2 separate regions of the Homo sapiens genome follow, and region 2 is linked to region 1. Evidence: promoter capture Hi-C in 16 types of primary human blood cells and fetal thymus (Javierre and others, 2016). All regions are on one chromosome and are shown on one strand. Each heading gives the region's core, a stretch centred on a gene start or on the middle of the fragment in contact. The rest is flanking DNA. Distances are from core to core; before and after follow the strand shown. Region 1 holds the start of MYO5C (myosin VC). Region 2 has its middle 41 kb from the start of ONECUT1.

The links. The method cuts DNA at HindIII sites, captures the fragments that hold promoters and counts their contacts. A CHiCAGO score of 5 or more calls a contact.
Region 2: a contact is called between a fragment that was not itself captured here and the fragment with the promoter of MYO5C in region 1, in 1 of 17 cell types (naive CD4 T cells). The highest score is 5.8, in naive CD4 T cells.

The regions. Positions count from the first base shown.
Region 1 is chr15:52,294,426-52,297,125 of GRCh38, forward strand. It overlaps MYO5C (myosin VC), which reads right to left and starts at 1,379. Exons shown (of 41, transcript NM_018728.4): 1 at 1,185-1,379. The coding sequence starts at 1,211. LOC105370819 (a long non-coding RNA gene) reads left to right here and starts at 459. Exons shown (of 4, transcript XR_932250.3): 1 at 459-786. RefSeq lists a silencer at 1,043-1,202. The HindIII fragment of the contact is 736 bases long and covers 679-1,414 here.
Region 2 is chr15:52,747,549-52,750,395 of GRCh38, forward strand. No RefSeq gene overlaps it. Among named protein-coding and RNA genes, the nearest start is that of ONECUT1, 41 kb to the right of the region's middle. The HindIII fragment of the contact is 985 bases long and covers 799-1,783 here.

The DNA.
Region 1 (2,700 bases), core at 129-2,628:
GAGGAGAAACTACAGTTCGGTTGCTTTGTGTCCGGACTGTTACTAAGTAATCAAAGTAGAAGAAAAACGTTTGCTTAAACCATTGAAACATGATTTTTTAAATAACTATCTTTTCTATCTACAGCAAAAGCATCTTTTAAAGTAGAAAGCTAGAGCATGTGTCCGGGGAAATGGATGGATTCTAGTTCCACTCGTCTGAATACTGAGGTCTCTAGATTTCCCCAACTGGTGTATAGGAGGATCAGGCTTTATGGCTATTCAAATGGATTTTTTTTTTCAAAAGTGCTAACACTGTCACACTCTTTATCCAAATAATTACCCAAGCCCATCTCAGAGGGTTTGGGACATATGTGGGAACGCTGCCCTTCCGAGGTAAGAGGTGGAGCCCCAGCCAGCAGAAAGGAAGCTTCTGAGGAATGCTCTAGTGTTTCCCAGAGTCAGGGTATATGAAAGGCGCTTTAGAAACTGTGGTGTTTGTACTGTTGCTAACAGTACAGATGTTAGGCAAAGAGCCTACGACTGCACCTCGTGGCCCCTGGGCTCCCCAAGCGCTTGGTGCCACTGCAGTGCCCTCAAGCCTGTGACCCAGGCTGCTTCAGCTTCTGATGAGCCTACATGCACGTTCACGCACTTTGAAGACACAGAATTCTAGAAAGCAGCCCGAACACTGCGGCCATAAGCTTCTATGCCAGCTCGTTCAAGGGGGTCCCAGGAGGGGCCAGGAGACTGGCCGGCGTCTCAGCTTCCTACGTCCGCATGGGCAACTCTGATTCCACCCGTGGTGTGGTAGGAAGGGACCGAGGCGCTCCAGTCCCGGGAGATGGGGACGCACGCGCGACCCCTGGGCACTGGGGATTCTAGGCCCCGAGGCCGGAGCGGCGGAGGGGGCGGCCCCTCCCACAGGGTCTTCCCACCCACAGGGCACCCAGGCGCAGCGGAGCCAGGAGGGGGCTTACCCGCGGGCAGGGACGGAGCACGCCGGGGCCCTGGAGGGGCGACGCTCGCTCGTGTCCCCGGTCCCCGTGGCCCCTCCGCGGCGCCTCCGCGGCCCCCAGCGCGCGCCCGCCCGCCCTGCCGTGTCAGGTGCGCAGGTGTGGCAGGTGTGGCCCGGGCGCCAGGTCGAGTCAGCGTTAGCAGGGCCGGCTCCCCCACAGCGCTCCCAGGAGCCCAGCGGACCCTCCTACCTGCGTGTACAGCTCGGCCACCGCCATGGGCAGGAGGGGCCGGGGCCAGGCCGGGGCTGCCGAACGTGCGAGGCTCGGGGGCTGGGCCTGCGCCGCAGAGGCCGGGCGCAGGAGAGACCGCCGCGGAAATCACCGCCGGGCCATCTTGCCCAAAGTTTTCCAACGGCCTCCTGTTCCCGTTCCCGAGTTGGCGGCGAGGGGAGGGGGCAGCGGCGGGATTGGTCCCTCCAAGCTTGGCCCGGCTAGTCGGCGCTGCCATTGGCCGGGGCCGGGCGGCTGCACCTGGCGGGAGCGCGGGTGGAGAAGGTTGGGGCCCGGGGCGCGCTGCCAGGCAGGAACAGATGCATCCGGAGGCTGCCCGGCCCGAGTGTTAGCTCCTCAAAGAGCAGAGGATACGACCATTTAAATGGAAGACCCAAGGGAATCAACGTACTGAACACAAAGAAATGTGTTAAGAGTCCAGCAAGGTCATCGTATTCAAAATCAAATACAAAAATAAGTAATGGTCCTTTATATGAGCATTGTCTATGCAATACAAGATATTTACAATATTAGTGAAAATATAAAGTATCCAGAGATTACACTCGCAAAAATGCCCTTGGCCTTTGTGGAGAAAATGTTTAAAATTCTCTTAAAGAGCTTAAAAGAAGGCCCAGGTAAACGGGAGACATGCCATTTTCCTGGCTGGGAATATTTAATATGGTCAAGGTGTCACTTCTACCCAAATCAATATATATGCCTAATATATTGGCGTCAGAATCCTACAGAACTTTTGGAGAATTGTACAATGATTCTATATTTCATATAGAATAAAAGCCCTGTATAACTAAGACAATTCTCAAAGAGGAGAGATTTGTCCTGCCATATATTTAGGGACATAACAAAGCAGTAGTCATTAAAACAGTGTGACACTTGCGTGAGAACGGATACGTGAGTAATGGAACATGCTGGAGCCCCCCAGCAGGGCCCTACATTATACGGTAGCCTTAAGGACCAGATAGGGAAATAAAATAATATTTATTAGATGGGCCCGTTATATGGAAAAACAATAAAAGCAGATCCGTGGCAAACACTGCATCCAAAAATAAGCTCCAGATGGATTCACGATTAAAACTTAAAACCGGGAAATTATTAGGAATAAAAGAGGGATAATATCTTTAAAATGTTGGGTTATAGTAGTTTCCATATAGAAGAATTGTTAATCGGTTAAAGAAAAGAAATCCAATTTTTAAAACTGACAAAAATTAATAGGCAATTCACAGATGGGGACACTTAAATGGCTTGTTAGCATACAAGGAGATGTCAACTTTAGCAGTAATCAGATAAATACAAATGAAAACAACAATGAGATATTGCTTTTTACCCATCATATTGGCAAAAACATTTAGGTTAGACAATCTCAGATACTGCCTAGGATGTGAGAAAATAAAAACTTGGCCGGGCGCGGTGGCTCACGCCTGTAATCCCAGCACTTTGGGAGGCCGAGGCGGGCGGATCACGAGGTCAGGAGATCGAG
Region 2 (2,847 bases), core at 41-2,540, 450 kb after region 1:
CTCGTTTTCCCTTGCAACATGTGGATGACCATGCCTTCCCTCTTTCCCCTCCAGTCCACTCTGCCCCTTTAAATATTGAAGTGCTCAAATTCATCTTTGGAGAAAGGCACAGACCACAGACTGTTTCTGTGATTCTGTGTTTTTTTCTTCCAGGGAAGTCCTTAAACTTGGCCAAATAAATGTCTAAATTGATCAAGACCTGTCTCAGATACTTTTTGCTTTACCCCATTGAGGGCTTTGAAAAGTTTCAATATATTCCTGAGAATCTGGACTGCTCTGCACACCCGTGTGAGATATTCTCCTTTATTTAAAGTGAGCTGATTATGAACAGCAATCACATCCACAAAATACCTTCATGGCAACACCTAGTGTTTGAATGAGTAACTGGGGACCAGAGACTAGTCAAGTTGACACATAAAACTGATCATCACAAGAGAGAACAGAGCTATATAGGAACAAAATGTTTATATAGTATTGAAATTGATATTAATCATCCTTGGGGCAGAGCTCAGCATACCTCCCACCATCCCACTGGTATGCCCCAAAGCCCACTCATGACTATACATGTGAAAGTATTGAGAGATAAATGGGCATGATATATGCAACCTATTCTCCCAAGGTTCCAGGAAAATAATTATGTAAACATATACACAGAGAATGATAAAGCAAATGTGACAAAATATAAAGCATTGTTAAATCTGGCTAATAGGTACATAAGAATTCCTTATGCATCCTTGCAACTTTTCTGTGAGTTTGAAATTATTTCAGAATAAAACTTTTTAGAAAATGTCCACAAAAAGCTTTGTAGAAGAACATTAATATCACCTTCATTAAAAATAGCCAAGGCTGGGTACAGCGGCTCATGCTTATAACGCCAGCTCTTTGGGAGGCCAGGAGTTCAGGAACAGCCTGGGCAACGTGGCAAGAACCTGTCTCTACAAAAACAAAACAAAACAAACAAACCAACAAAAAAACCCCACACACAAAAATTAGTGGGGTATGGTGGCATGTGCCTGTATTTGCAGCTACTTGGAAGGCTGAGGCAGGAGGATCACGTTAGCCCAGGAGGTCCAGGTTGCAGTGAGCGGTGATTATGCCGCTGCACTCCAGCCTGGGTGACACAAGGAGACCCTATCTCAAAATAAATAAATAAATAAATAAAAATTTAAAAAGGGAGATCAGTCTTACCCCTATATTTAAAAAATGAAAAACCTTAGAAAATAGTTTTTTTGTTTGTCTACTTCTTTGTTTTGAGACGGAGTCTCACTCTGTCGCCAGGCTGGAGTGCAGTGACACGATCTTGGCTCATTGCAACCTCCACCTCCCGGGTTCAAGTGGTTCTGCTGCCTCAGCCTCCTGAGTAGCTGGGACTACAGGCATGCATCACCACGCCCAGCTAATGTTTTTTCTATTTTTAGTAGAGATGTGGTTTCACCATGTTGGCTGGGATGGTCTTGATCTCTTGACCTCATGATCCGCCCACCTTGGCCTCCCAAAGTGCTGGGATTACAGGTGTGAGCCACCGCGCCCGGACAAAAATAGTTTTTTTAACTGGAAAAAATCTGCATTTTAAGATATTTGCTGAGCCTGTAATCCCAGCTACTAGGAAGGCTGAAGCCCAGGAGGATCGCTTGAGCCTAGGAGTTTGACGCTAGCCTGGGTAACGTGGCAAGACCCTGTCTCTAAATCAATCAATCAATCTGTCTATCTATCATCTATCTAATTTGCTGATAATAAATATAGCTAAGATTTATGGAGGATTTATATGCCGGACACTGGGCTAAGCTTTACCTACTTCTAGTGTCTAATCCTCACAACCACGCTATAATGTAGATACTTATGCCTATTTTACAGATGAGGAAACAGACTGAGGGAAGTTAAGTAATTTGCCTAAGGTCTCACAATTAGTAATCAGCACAGCAGGAAAGCCAAACTGTGTTTCCCGAGCCAGGCCTCTTGATCGGTTACTACATTGTATTAAAGAGGACCTTAATTTCCCTGCCCCCCAGCTTCTGACACACACAACTGCCTACACAAGTTATTTTACTGGAGAGGGCTTTTAAGGACCATCCTCTCTAATAATAATTTTTACTTCTTCTGAGAGTCAATCAGGTTAATATAAATGGCTAATCTCTAGAAATAGAATGTTCCACTTTCATTTAAAAGCATTATTTTGCTCCACTAGAGAACATCTCTTTATTTCCCTGCATTAATCTTTCTTTGACCATGGCACTGGCTTTTGTTTTCAAGCGTGTTGTCCTCTCCGTTTCACCCTTCCTCCAAAGAAACTCGATGAGCTACTTGCTTAGGATTTCAGGTAGAATAAAAACAAAAGAAGGCAAGGATTGTCTAAATTTAAAGTGCTGGAAAATCCAACATTTTATTTACTACATTTTGGTGACTACATAAATGCTGAAACATTTTAACACTGAAAAGCATGATGGCATCATCACTTGCTTTTTTTTTTTTTTTTTTTTCTTTTTTGCTTAGCAAACACAGCAGATGATATTGCACGGCATAAAGTGAGAACAGTAGCGAAGCTTAAAATAAATGAAAGAAACCTTAATGCAGTACAGGAGATACTCAGAAACAAACCAGAATAATGCCTAATGCATTACACGTTTTTGTTGCTACACACAAAAATACAGAAGAAGCATCGGACAGAGAGAAAGAGAGAGAGACAAAATATTAGCAAACAACCATAACTGGGTACAATAATCATTTAGTCTGAAATGTAGATGCAACGTAGAAACTACCACTGTTTTCTAATTGACAAAGAAAATGACAGCAACATTTGTCTTTTATCAAAAAATCTTCTAAGCCCCTCATGGTTAGGGTTTTAATTAA